Regions from separate parts of the Homo sapiens genome. Here all the other regions are linked to region 2. The links are contacts of gene promoters, found by promoter capture Hi-C in human tissues and cell types (Jung and others, 2019). All regions are on one chromosome and are shown on one strand. Each heading gives the region's core, a stretch centred on a gene start or on the middle of the fragment in contact. The rest is flanking DNA. Distances are from core to core; before and after follow the strand shown. Region 1 overlaps OCM (oncomodulin). Region 2 holds the start of ANKRD61 (ankyrin repeat domain 61). Region 3 overlaps CYTH3 (cytohesin 3).

Evidence for each region. The method cuts DNA at HindIII sites, captures the fragments that hold promoters and counts their contacts. A contact is called where the count stands out against the background at its distance.
Region 1: a fragment that was not itself captured here is called in contact with the fragment with the promoter of ANKRD61 in region 2 in 2 of the 25 tissues and cell types used here (liver and mesenchymal stem cells).
Region 3: a contact is called between a fragment that was not itself captured here and the fragment with the promoter of ANKRD61 in region 2, in 2 of the 25 tissues and cell types used here (dorsolateral prefrontal cortex and mesenchymal stem cells).

What each region holds. Positions count from the first base shown.
Region 1 is chr7:5,884,543-5,888,836 of GRCh38, reverse strand. It overlaps OCM (oncomodulin), which reads right to left. Exons shown (of 4, transcript NM_001097622.2): 4 at 2,474-2,773. The coding sequence ends at 2,748. Among named protein-coding and RNA genes, the nearest start is that of OCM, 5.9 kb to the right of the region's middle. The HindIII fragment of the contact is 5,338 bases long and covers 1-4,294 here.
Region 2 is chr7:6,029,345-6,034,307 of GRCh38, reverse strand. It overlaps ANKRD61 (ankyrin repeat domain 61), which reads right to left and starts at 2,932. Exons shown (of 3, transcript NM_001271700.2): 1 at 2,717-2,932; 2 at 1,372-1,469. The coding sequence starts at 2,932. All of the region lies in intron 11 of EIF2AK1 (eukaryotic translation initiation factor 2 alpha kinase 1), which reads left to right. The HindIII fragment of the contact is 7,395 bases long and covers 91-4,963 here.
Region 3 is chr7:6,200,987-6,205,567 of GRCh38, reverse strand. All of the region lies in intron 1 of CYTH3 (cytohesin 3), which reads left to right. Among named protein-coding and RNA genes, the nearest start is that of CYTH3, 69 kb to the left of the region's middle. The HindIII fragment of the contact is 3,612 bases long and covers 776-4,387 here.

The DNA of each region.
Region 1 (4,294 bases), core at 1,019-3,518, 140 kb after region 2:
CAGAGGTCAGGAGTTCGAGACCAGCCTGGCCAACATGGTGAAACCCCGTCTCTACTAAAAATACAAAACTTAGCTGGGTGTGGTGGTGCATGCCTGTAATCCCAGCTACTCAGGAGGCTGAGGCAGTAGAATCACTTGAACCTGGGAGGCAGAGGTTGCAACGAGCTGCTGCACTCCAGCCTGGGCGACAGAGTGAGACTGTCTCAAAAAACAAACAAAAACAAAAAAAGTCACTATGCTGAGAGTGATACTGTTAAAAAAAAAGTTTGTGCCTGTCACCCTAAGTCATCTTGAGGCCCCCTGCTAGTATGTGCCCCATACTTTGAGGAACCACATTTAACATGACCCTCTGGAAAACAAAGGCTCAAAAGCCACTAAGCTGGTTAGTGTGCCCGAAGCAATCTGGAAGAGCCCCAAGGCCTCTTGTGAGCTGGAGGGTTTAGTAAAAAGTGTGAGCTTTTACACAAGCTCTCCAGAAAATGCCTCAATTGTTCCCAGGAGTCCTCAACTCACAGGGTTAGCCCAAGAGAAGAGCTTTAATGTGCCACCTGGAAACCAGCCTGGTGAGAATTTCCTGGCTTAAGACTGCCCAGCCCTAATGACAGCCCTGTAACAGAACCCCGGAGGCTCACCTCAAACCGAAGGCAAGGCTAGGTGTATTGGGCTTAGGTGAATCGCCTTAGAGCCAGGAAGCCAGTGGCTGAGAAAGAGAAGCGGGAGGTGTCAGAGGACTGGGTGACAGCAGGTGAGCCTCTCTGAGGGCTCGTTTCTCTCTCTCTCTTTTTTTTTTTTTTTTTTTTGATAGCTTGTTTCTCAGAGAAGAAGAAGATGGCCAGGTATGGTGTCTTATGCCTAATTGTGGCTTGGAATCCTTTGGGAGGCCTAGGCGGGCGGATCACCTGAGATCAGGAGTTCGAGACCAGCCTGGCCAACAAGGTGAAACCCTGTCTTTAGAAATACAAAATTAGCTGCACGTGGTGGTGGGCACCTGTAATCCCAGCTACTCAGGAGGCTGAGACAGGAGAATTGCTTGAACCTGGGAGGCGGGGGTTGCAGTGAGCCGAGATCATGCCACCTCACTCCAGCCTGGGTGACAGAGTGAGACTGTCTCAAAATGAAAAGGAGAAAAAGGACTTGAAAATGGATCTGTGCTGGCTCACACCTGCAATCCCAGCACTTTGGGAGGCTGAAGTGGGATAATGGCTTGAGACCAGCAGTTCCAAACCAGCCTGGGCAATAGAGCGAGACCCTCCCCCACCATCTCTAATAAATAAACAATAAAAAGTAAGGCCGGGCGCAGTGGCTCATGCCTGTTATCCCAACACTTTGGGAGGCTGAGGTGGGAGGATGGCTTGAGCCCAAGAGTTCGAGATCAGCCTGAGCAACATAGTGAGACCCTCCCCCACCATCTCTAATAAATAAACAATAAAAAGTAAGGCCGGGTGCGGTGGCTCACGCCTGTTATCGCAACACTTTGGGAGGCTGAGTGGGAGGATCGCTTGCGCCCAGGAGTTCGAGATCAGCCTAAATAACACAGTGAGACCTCACCTCTACCAAAAACACAAACGTTAGCCGGGTGTGGTGGTGCATGCCTGTAGTCCCAGCTACTCAGGAAGCTGAGGTGGGAGGATGGTTTGAGTCCAGGAGGCAGAGGTTGCAGTGAGCTGAGATCGTGCCACTGCACTCCAGCCTGGGCGACAGAGCTGGACCTTGTCTCAAAATAAATAAATAATAAAGAGGAAATGGGTCCGTTTGTACTAACCTGGAATCGCAAGTCTCTCCTGAGCTTTACAGACCACTACAGACACGTATTCTGTTTTGTCTTGTACCTTTTGCTTTTAATTAAATCAAAGTGGCTTTCTAACACATGGCAGAAAACATACCGGTAAGAGTGACTGGCTGGGCACAGTGGCTCACGCCTGTAATCCCAGAACTTTGGGAGGCCAAGGTGGGCGCATCACTTGAGGTCAGGAGTTTGAGACCAGCCTGGCCAACATGGTGAAACTCCAACTCTGCTAAAAATACAAAAATTAGCCGGGTGTGGTGGTGTGCACCTGTAATCCCAGCTACTTGGGAGGCTGAGGTGGGACAATAGCTTGAACTTGGAAGGCAGAGGTTGCAGTGAGCCAAGATTGAGCCACTGCACTCCAGCCTGGGTGACAGAGTGAGACTCTGTCTCAAAAAAAAAAAAAAAAAAAAAAGAGTGATTTTATGCTGGCTAAAATCCCTTCCTATTAATTTCAGTGTCACAAGATTTGCTGAGAAAAATAATAGCTTGACAATGGCATTTATTTGTGACTCTAAAGAAACAACCAAAAACACCCTCCAAAACCTGATTTCCTTGTTTGCTGGACCATAACACCAGTGTGGCCCGCTCCAAGCTTGATGGGACCAGAAATCCTACAAAAAAGCCCTTGGTCCCAGTTTGCTTGAGTGTCGTGCTGAGGAAAAAACACGCCCACACATCAGCAGATGATGAGAAGCCTGTCTTTATTGGGTGATTTTTAGAGGCATTGCCTGTTGGGGGAAGGGGGGCTTACAGAAGTTGTCAGGGCATATACCCACCACCAAGAAAGTCAGGAGTGACTCCCTCGTGACCTCACTAAAACAATGAGCAAACTGCAGAAGGTTTTCAGGGAAAATTAACAAATTAGGTAGGGATGGGATGTGGGGTTCCCCATTCCCAGGGCTTTGGAATCCTTCCAGGTGATTATCCCTTTCTCTCTTTTCTCCAGAGACTGGGGCTTTTAAGAATGCACCATTTCCTGGAATTCTAGAACAGAAGAGGTGAGAACAGGGTCAGTGGAGGTGGCTTGGTTCTTTACAGACGTGCCGTGGCCAATGAGAATTCCAAAGAGGGAAGGAAGCAAAGAAAATTGTCAGATGATGGGCATGGCCCCCTTGGAGGGCACAAAAGAAAGAAAAACTGGCCGGGCACAGTGGCTCATGCCTGTAATCCCAGCACTTTGGGAGGCCGAGGCGGGTGGATCATGACATCATGAGATCGAAACCATCCTGGCCAAAATGGTGAAACCCTGTCTCTACTAAAAATACAAAACTTAGCTCAGCGTTGTGGCACGTGCCTGTAGTCCCAGCTACTTGGGAGGCTGAGGCAGGAGAATCACTTGAACCTGGGAGGCGGAGGTTGCAGTGAGCCGAAATCACGCCATTGCACTCTAGCCTGGGCGAGAGAGCCAGACTCCAACTCAAAAAAAAAAAAAAAGGAAAGAAAGAAAGAAAAAAAAACCCTGGGTATCAATGACTATATCTCGAGGAAGTTCACAGGGTTCCATTTCTCTGAATAATCTTATTTAACAAACATCTTCAGCTTTGCAATAGAGGTCTTTGAATTAGAACTTGTCAAGCCTATCATTTCTCCCTGATAATGCATGAATTCAGTGGAATTACCTGTGACCATCTGTGAACATTTAACTTTTTGTCTGGTCAATTTCAGACAGGAAGGGGAGATTTTCTTTCTCTATTCCGTAGCTGGGTATTGCATTTTTAGGATATATTTGATAGGGTGGGACTTTGAACTGACTTTCCTCCATTGAACCAAACTCCAAACGTTTCTGTTACTAAAAGAAGGATAATAGTAATAATAACAAGGTATGGATGTTACAGATTGATATAAAAAACTGGGGACTTGCTTTATATTTATTGGTAAGCTTTGTTTATTTGGAAATCCTTCATGGTTATGTTTTTTTTTTTCTTTTGAGATAGAGTTTCACTCTTGTTGCCCAGGCTGGAGTGCAATGGTGCCATCTTGGCTCCCTGCAACCTCTGCCTCCCAGGTTCAAGCGATTCTCCTGCCTCAGCTTCCCGAGTAGTTGGGATTACAGGTGCCCACCACCATGACCGGCTAATTTTTTATATTTTCAATAGAGATGGGGTTCACCATGTTGGTCAGTCTAGTCTTGAACTCCCGACTTCAGGGGATCTGCCCACCTTGGCCTCCAAAATTGCTGGGATTATAGGCCTGAGCCACCACGCCCAGCCCCTGGTTATGTTTAAATAAGGCAATCCCCCCTTACCTAATCTGTTTTTATGAGCTATCTATCTGCATTAACTCCCATGTAGTAAGCGATAGTGGTATAATTTTGAACAGGTTTTTTTTTTTTTAATAAGCATCTAACGTAGCAGTTTTAAATTTCAAATTAGCACCACCAGAAGGACCATCATATGTTCTGCTGAGTTGGCAGGCACAAAGCAGTTAAAAAGCACGCTAGCAACATGACAAAATCAAGTGAAAATAGTCCTACAGCTGTGCTAGTGTATTCTAAAGCTCAAACCT
Region 2 (4,963 bases), core at 1,683-4,182:
TGAGATGGAGTCTTGCTCTGTCGCCCAGGCTGGAGTGTGGTGGCGTGATTTTGGCTCACTGCAACTGCTGCCTCACGGGTTCAAGCGATTCTCCTGCCTCAGCCTCCCGAGTAGCTGGGACTACAGGCGCCCGCCACCACGCCTGGCTAGTTTTTGTATTTTTAGTAGAGATGAGGTTTCACCAGGCTGGTCTCGAACTCCTGACCTCATGATCCACCCACCTCAGCCTCCCATGGTGCTGGGATTACAGGCGTGAGCCACCGCGCCCGGCCTATACTACTTAATTCTTTCATTCACTCGGATAGTATTACTGAGCACGTGCTAAGTGTCAGGCATTGATTTGGTTGAGGTGCTGGAGATACAGTGGTGCACAAGGTCAACTTCTCTTTCATGCGGCTTACCTTCTAGTGGAGAGTAATAAACAAGAAAATCCATTGTCGGCCAGGCACGGCGGCTCACGCCTGTAATCCCAGCACTTTGGGAGGCTGAGGTGGACGGATCACGAGGTCAGGAGATTGAGACTATCCTGGCTAACATGGTGAAACCCCATCTCTACTAAAAATACAAAAAATTAGCCAGGCGTGGTGGCAGGCGCCTGTAGTCCCAGCTACTTGGGAGGCTGAGGCAGGAGAATGGCGTGAACCCAGGAGAATGGTGCCACTGCACTCCAGCCTGGGCGACAGAGCGAGACTCTGTCTCAAAAAACAAAAACCAAAAATAAAGAAAATCCATTGTCTACCTATATTTTATTTTTCACACCTAACTTTGGTGGTTAAACTTATTGAAGGCCATGGCAAGGACTTTACTGCATTCCTCACAACACCACCATTGAGCTCTTAATCCTCAGAATGTGCATTAATTTGGCAAAATATTTATGATGTTGCATTTTTCTCAGTTTTTCAGAGTATCTCATCTACTCAGTAAAGACATTGGTTCATTCATAAGAACGAACAAGTCCAAACATAAGTGGAAAAAATGTATGAACTGAAAAAAAAATCTATATCAGGTATATCCTCACTTAGAAATGATTGTCAGTGAAGCTGGGTGCTGTGGCTGAGGGCTGTTAATCCCAGCACTTTGGGAGGCCGAGGCAGGTGGATCACTTGAGGCCAGGAGTTCAAGACCAGCCTGGCCAACATGGTGAAACCCTGTCTCTACTAAAAATACAAATGTTAGCTGGGCATGGTGACGCACACCTGTAATCCCAGCTACTCGGGAGGCTGAGGTGGGAGAAGCTCTTGAACCCAGGAAGTAGAGGTTGCAGTGAGGCGAGATTGTGCCATTGCACTCCAGCCTGGGCAACAGAGCGAGACCCCTGCCTCAAAACAAAAAAGAAAAAAAAAGAAATGATTTTCGGTGGAGTTAACTTACCTGACTTCTGGGTCAGCACCGTGCCGTAACAGGCAGAGCAGACTCTGGGCCTTGTGGTACTTGGCAGCCAGATGGATGGGGATGATAGACTCTGTCGGCTTTGGAGGGAAAACAAAACACATTACAAGTGGCCCTGTGTAGTTAAAAATACTGTTTGTGTTAGCTTGCCGTTTCAAAGGCAATACATTTATTTAGTGTCTCATTGGCTCACTCTTTTTCTGGTATGTGCATTGAAAGTTTCCTTTCTACTACCTGTTTTAAATGATCAAAATTCAGTGAATTCCATCCTATAAAATCTGTGTTTCACAGAAATGCACATTTACTGAGGCAACAGAAATAACACTCAAAAGCTTTGGAAATTTTTGAAAGTTGATTCTTCAGAAGAGCCTGTGGTGTGATATTAAGGGTACTTGCTATGAAGTCACTTATTCCTTAAATTAACCCACAGGGTGATGGACAAGTAGGTGCTGTGTCGTTGCCAAAGTCGTATTATCAGCAGTAAAACCTGAATCTTCAGGGTTTTCAAATATAACGCAGCATATGTTCTGTCTATGATTAGCAGAGCTGTTTGTGCCAGCTCTTAAAATACACACGTGTAAGTAGTGGTTTCACACCGTGGCTGCAAGATAAGACAGTAGGGTACAAGGGAGGGTGACTTCCTTTTTGAATTTAATTGTAAAAGTAATAATCATTGTATAAAAATTTAGAAAATGAAAATGTATATATTAAAAAGGGAAAAACTATTTTTTGTTTGTTTGTTTGAGATGGAGTCTTGCTCTGTCATCCAGGCTAGAGAGTGCAGTGGTACGATCTTGGCTCACTGCAACCTCTGCCTCCTGGGTTCAAGCAATTCTCCTGCCTCAGCCGTCCGAGTAGCTGAGATTACAGGCTCCTGCCACCAAGCCCGGCTAATTTTTGTATTTTTAGTAGAGACGGGGTTTTGCCCTGCTGGCCAGGCTGGTCTCGAACTCCTGACCTCAGGTGATCCACCCACCTCAGCCTTCCAAAGTGCTGGGATTACAGGCATGAGCTACTGCGTCTGGCCAAAAAAGGGAAAAACTAATTTGACCACATGGAGATCATCACTGTGGGTATGTTTGAGAGATGACATGAATGGTCTTCCAGTCACACAGGGTCTGGTGTTTTCTCATGTTGGTTTGTGTGTGACATGTGTAGGGGAGGCTTTGCAGGCTTTGGGGAGCACTGCAGTGTGTGTGGAGTGAGCTGGAGTCGTGTCTCATTCTCATAAGGGCCGTGAGCTTAGTGGGTTCACCAGCTTTAGATCATGCTTCTTTCTAAGCAGCCTGACTTTTTTCCAGAAGTGACTGAGCAGAAAAGAGGGTACCTGGGTCAGAAGTAATCTGTTGCTGGCGGAGTTGGGCAGAATGGTGATGGGCTGGTTGACAGGGTGATTTCTCAGGAGTACCTCGATCGTAGTGCAGTCTTCTCTCATGATGGCTTCATAGAGTTTCGAGTGAAGTGCTGCAGATGGGCCATCTTCCAGGGACTTGGCACTGTCAACCACCAGGTCTCTGCTTCCTTTCCTGGTTATATTCCCCATGAGAAAAACTTAAGACTTCAGGGGAAAATGTTGTTATGGAATTGGTCAGTTTCAGTCTCTTTGTGATGATTCTTTCAGTTCAGTTCTAGAACTGTTCTAGAATTTGTCGAGAATTGGATCTGTGAAGGCAATCCATCAGTTTGGAACCAAGCGTCCAGACTTTGTTCCTTGATCATAGAATGTCAAATGTCAGCAGTTTTTAGGGTTTTCTACTCTATCATAAAAACATATTCAAGCTATCATCTTACACCTTTATTTCTGATTTCTCTCCAGTTCAAGTGTAGCTGAAACAATGATCAAAGCTAAAACAGAGGAATTTATACATTAAAATACAAAGTTAAAATTATTACTTTTAAAGTAAGAAAACTTTTAACCTTAAGTTATTTTTTAGTTTTTATTATAATAGAATCTTCCCTCTCCCCATTATGGGTTCAGTTTTTCTCCGGCATAGGAATAGTTTGGGAGATGTTTTGGGTCTGTACTCTTTGCTTAAATAAAGCCATTTAGTGTGATCTATTAGTTCCCAACCCTGGCTAATACATATGAGTTATCTGGGAGCTTTTAAAAAATATCAAAGTTGGCTGGGTGCGGTCGCTCATGCCTGTAATCCCAGCACTTTGAGAGGCCAGGGCGGGCAGAACATGAGGTCAAGAGATCAAGACCATACTGGCCAACATGGTGAAACCCTGTCGCTACTAAAAATACAAAAAGTAGCTGGCTGTGGTGGCGTGCGCCTGTAGTCCCAGCTACTCAGGAGGTTGAGGCAGGAGAATTGTTTGAACCTGAGAGGTGGAGGTTACAGTGAGCCGAGATGGCACCACTGCACTCCAGCCTGGCGACACAGCAAGACTCTGTCTTAAAGAAAAAAATCAGTTTTTTCGTAGTGCGAGAAACATGCTCACCCGTCCAAACCCAAAGAGTGAACTTAGAGGCACAAAGAACAGTGAAAGTGAGACTTTTAATAGCCCTCTTGCAAGGTCACGTGTCTGGTAGGCAGGTACACCCAGGGCAGTTACAACAGGTGATTTATCTCCTAGCATGCAAGACCCTACCTCAGTTCCTCACTGGTCAAGGACTACAGGGTTACGATCTTCCCGGACGTCGCCTAAGTTGCATTATCCCCTTAGAAGGTTATACCCTGGTCCCTTTCCCGCTTAAGTTTGGATTTCCCAGTAATGAAACTTTCTTCCCTTTTATGGGCTGACTCCTCTACATCCTGTTCACTTATTGTGATCTTCCAGGTGGATGAGCCATGTGGTTTGTTACATTTGCAGGCTGGCTGCCGGTGCTTAGATTTATCATGCCTTGAAAAAGCCATTTAAAATGTTTTCTCACACATAGAAAATCACGTCTCTGGACTCGACAGGACAGTCGTTTCTTTTCTTTTCTTTTTTTTGAGACAGAGTCTCACTCTGTTTCCCAGGCTGGAGTGCAGTGATGCGATCTCGTCTCACTGCAACCTCTGCCTCCCAGGTTCAAGCAATTCTGCCTCAGCCTCCCGAGTAGCTGGGATTACAGGCATGCACCACCACACCTGGCTAATTTTTGTATTTTTAGTAGAGATGGGGTTTCACCATGTTGGCCAGCCTGGTCTTGAACTCCTGACCTCAGGCGATTTGCCCGCCTCAGCCTCCTAAAGTGCTGAGATTACAGGTGTGAGCCACCGTGCCCGGCCGAGGACAGTCATTTCTAAGAGCTTCTTGGGTAATGATGTGCAGTAAGGGTTGGGAAGCACTTGTGTACAAAGCATGCTCTACATTAATATTCTCCAAATTTAGAATAGCCTTGGGACTTTTAATAATACTGATGCTTGCGTTCACCCGCAGGAGTTCTGATGCAGCTGGCCTGGGGAATGGTTGAATGTTGAGGTTTTTTTTTTTTTGAGACAGGGTTTTGCTCTTGTTGCCCAGGCTGGAGTGCAATGCCACAATCTTGGTTCACTGCAGCCTCTGACTCCTGGGTTCAAGCCATTCTTCTGCCTCAGTCTCCCTAGTAGCAGGGATTACAGGCACGTGCCACCACACCTAATTT
Region 3 (4,581 bases), core at 1,332-3,831, 170 kb before region 2:
GAGTCTCATTCTTTTGCCCAGGCTGGAGTGCAGTAGTGAGATCTCGGCTCAGTGCGACTTCTACCTCCTGGGTTCAAGGGGTTCTCCTGCCTCAGCCTCCCGAGTAGCTGGGATTACAGGCGTGCACTGCCATGCCTGGCTAATTTTTTGTATTTTTAGTAGAGATGGGGTTTTACCATGTTGGCCAGCCTGATCTCAAACTCCTGACCTCAGGTGATCTGCCCACCTTGGACTCCCAAAGTTCCGGATTACAGGTGTGAGCCACCGTGCCTGGCCTTTGTTGGTATTTTCTAATTTACATTACGTTGTTATCTTTGACCAATGATTTATTTAGAATTGTGTTTCTTAATTTAATTTCCAAACAAATGGGTTTTCCTGGTCACTGTTTTTTGTTTTTGCTTTTTTGAGAGAGTATTGCTTTGTCACCCAGGCTGGAGTGCAGTGGCATGATCATGGCTCACTGCAGCCTTGGCCGTCCAGGCTCAGGTGATTCTCCTACCTCAGCCCCCAAGTAGCTGGGACTACAGGTGTGCACCACCATACCTGGCTAATTTTTGTATTTTTAATAGAGACAGGGTCTTCGCCATGTTGCCCAAACTGGCCTTGAACTCCTGGGCTCAAGTGATCCACCCACCTCAGCCTCCCAAAGCTCTGGAATTACAGGCGTGAGCCACCGCACTCATCCTCTAGTCACTGTTTTGCAATTGATTTTTAACTTGATTGTTTTGTGTTCAGAGAATGTGGTCTTTATGACAACAGTAGTTTGTTATAGTTCGATACAGGAAACATAGAGCACTCTAAGTATTTTGAGCAGGAAGGAATGATTTGATTGGGGAGCCATGGGTTGGCTAAAGGAGTGGGCCCTGGCTTGGCTCTCCAAAATCGAGTCACCAGAGGAATTCTCGCCTGCTAGGCAACTCCTGCAACCATGGAGGTCCGTGCATATCCTCAGCCGTGATGGGGTCCACAGAACCTGAATCAGGAGGCCACAGTGCTGGAATGAACTCTCAATTCCTAGGAATCTAGAGAACGAACACTAGATAGAAAGCTGTTGCAGAAAATCCTCACCTTTCACATCTTTGTGGGCCAGCTGAGCAGCAGCCTGTGTAAAAGGGCAGGACGAGGACTTCTGCTTCACTGCTCTCTTTTGAATCCTGTACACTGCCTCTGTTTGGCAGAATAAGAGGATCTGGAGATGTAATTTTGAGCTTTCTAAACTCTGCTTTACTTGAAGGCACCTCCAGAGATTGAGCAAAGCACCTTCATCTCCACTACACCAATCCTTTGAAATTTATTTTCTTTTTTCACATGTGCTTGAATGTATATTGCACACCTGTTGGGTGCCATGATCCCACTGAGTTTGTCTGTATCAATTGTAAGATGCGTCGTTAGCTTATGTTCCATTAAGAAGAAAAAAGCTGGCACCTAAACCAGGGGCAATGAATCCTTCTCACTTAGAATCTTTATTTATACTGTCTGATTTTTTTTCAACTTAATATTGGTTTCTTTTTTTTTTTTCTATTGTGAACATATATAAAAAGTGAAATATGAAGCTGAGTGCGGTGGCTAACGCCTGTAATCCCAGCACTTTGGGAGGCTGAGGCGGGTGGATCACGAGGTCAGGAGATCAAGACCATCCTGGCTAACACAGTGAAACCCTGTCTCTACTAAAAATAAAAAAATTAGCCGGGCATGGTGGCAGGCGCCTGTAGTCCCAGCTACTCGGGAGGCTGAGACAGGAGAATGGTGTGAACCCAGGAGGCGGAGCTTGCAGTGAGCCGAGATTGGGCCATTGCATTCCAGCCTGGGCGACAGAGCGAGACTCTGTCTCCAAAAAAAAAAAAGGTGGAATATGAGTACAGTAAGTTGGTCAAGGTATTCCTGAAGCTTATTTACAGATTCCAACTCCTGAATCAGTTGTCTACTCAGAATAGTTGATATTTATGTTTTTCTACACAGTGCTGTCACCATCGAAGGCATTAGTGACACAGCAGTTCTTAAAGAGTGCTCCTATATTGTCTCCCGGATTTTTTTCTAATGTTTTGCAGAATTTTCTGCTGAGACTTTGTTGATCTTACCAGAAAGTATCAATGAATAATCTGTGGCAATGACTAGACTCATAATCCTTCATCAGATTATTCTTAAATTTTGTTTTTTTGCATGAAACGTTAAGGAGTAGCAGTTGTTTAGTTTTGCCTCTAGCAATAGTCAGATTCACAGCTATGGAGGCAATGATATGTAAATGTCACAATTCACTTCAAATATGTTAAAATGTGAAAAAAAAGCACATCTTATAATCAGTGAAGTATATTATGTCCATTAAATCAAGCTTGCTATTGTGTTGGTAAGATCTTCAACATTTTTTTTTTTTTGCCTTTGGGAAAAATTTTATTTTTACATGTACATCTGTCAATTTTTGCTTTATATATTTTGAGACTATTTTGTTAGATGCATATAAATTCTGACTTTGTGAATAACTGAACAAAATATCATTATCTAGTGACTCATAGCTTTAGTCTATTTTTCTTAAAGTTTTTTTGCCTATTTTTTCTTATAGCGGTACCAACTTTTTGGTAAGAATTTGTCTGGTATGTCACTTTCTACCCTTTTACCAACTTTTATGTATTCGTATGTTTTAAATATGCCTCTTTTAAAGAGCATTTAGTGGGATGTTTTTTGTTCTGGTTTTTAAGTCCAAGTTTTAAAACTTTACTCCTTTTTTTCACTTATGTTCATTGTAAATGTATCAGTTACTTCTTACTGCATAACAAACTTCTTCAAAGGAATTGGTTTAAAACAGCAATGGCCTGGCTGGGCACGGTGGCTCACGCCTGTAATCCCAGCACTTTGGGAGGCCAAGGCGGGCGGATCACCTCAGGTCGGGAGTTTGAGATGAGCCTAACATGGAGAAACCCCTTTTCTACTAAAAAAACAAAATTAGTTGGGCGTGGCGGCGCATGCCTGTAATCCCAGCCACTCAGGAGGCTGAGGCAGGAGAATCGATTGAACCCAGGAGGCGGAGGTTGCGGTGAGCTGAGATTCGCACCACTGCACTCCAGCCTGGGCAACAAGAGCGAAACCCTGTCTCAAAAAAAAAAAAAAAAAAAAAACTAGCAATGGCCTGTTGTCTCACCATCCAAATTTCCAAGTTGGCTGGCGGTTCACGTGCTGCTCTTGTCTGGGTTCACCCACGTTGTCATATTCAGCTGGAAGGCCAGCCGGGGGCTGAGCCCGTCCCAGATGACTTCACTTACGCGTTCGTCTGGGGCCTTGGCTGAGGTGCTGCAGCAGCTGGGACCTCAGGGACTCTTCCGTGTGGTTTCTTTACACAATGGATTTCATTTTCAAGGTTGCTGGCCCAGGGCATGGTGGTCTCAGGTTCCAGGACAGGGGAGGGACAAGACCTTGAGGCCTGGGTGCTGGGCCCTGCCCACTGTCAAATCTGCCATCTTCTCTTGGTCAAAGGAAGTCCCAAAGCCAGTCCAGAGAAAACACTGGGAAATAGACTTCCCTTCTTGAGAGGAGGAACCTCAAAATACCATGGCTGTGTTTTTCTGTCTACCATGGTAAAGATCAGTATATTTGGATTTTTTTTCCTGCACCCAATATTTTGCATTTTGTATTTCTAACAGTTGTTCTGTGTTTCTCTTTCTCTTTCCTTGCCTTTTTTTGGATTATTTTTTCTCATTCCAGTTTTAATTTCCCTTTCCCAATTTGGGCATTTTGAGCTCCATTCCTTTCCTGCTTACCCTAGAAATTTTAGTATGCCTTCTTAACTTGACAAGTCTAAAGTTAATCATCTATCCGCTCCGCCTTCGAACCCTAAGAACTTGAGAGCAAATTACTTCCCTTCTTATTTACATGCTGTTGTTGTTGAGCATTTTAGTTCTGTTCTTACTCTATGAGATGTTGTTATCTTACACAGTCAGGTTTTTTTAAGATTTACTTATGGAAACCAGTGCTCATCATTTTCTCTTGATGCTCACACCTCCTGTACTGGATCCCTTCTCTTGATTGAACTTATTTAAGAATTTCTGTTAGTGATAATGGTGCACCAGTGGCCAACTCCAGTTTGTGTCTGAAAATGTCACCTTTCACCTAATCCAAAGAAGGCTGGGTAAGGAACCAGTGTCCTGGAACAGTGAAGATCACCACATGGAGATTGAGGAGAAATGACAAGAAAGAAGGTTCCAAGGAGGTGGCGAGAATCGGACCCTTGGAGCCTCTGCGGCTTTCCTGCCTGCCCCTGCAGCTCAGTGCAGCATCCTGGCTAGCTGCGGCATGCCACTCACCTGGCCCTTTCCGTTGTTGCTAACACGTGACTGCCCTGTTACCCACCTGGATGTCATAGTTTGAATGCTGCTTTATCACCCACTGAGGTCACCCGACTGTCGAGTGGTGAGGAGAGGCAGAGCGCAGCCCCTGGCAGCTCAGAGCCTGCCCTTTTGTTCTGCGTGTCATCATACTGCTTCAGTAGTCTCCAGAAACTCATGCTCATTTAACAGTTGAGCCAGGCAAGGTGGCTCATACCTACAATCCCAGCACTTTGGGAGGCCGAAGTAGAGGATTACTTGAGCCCAG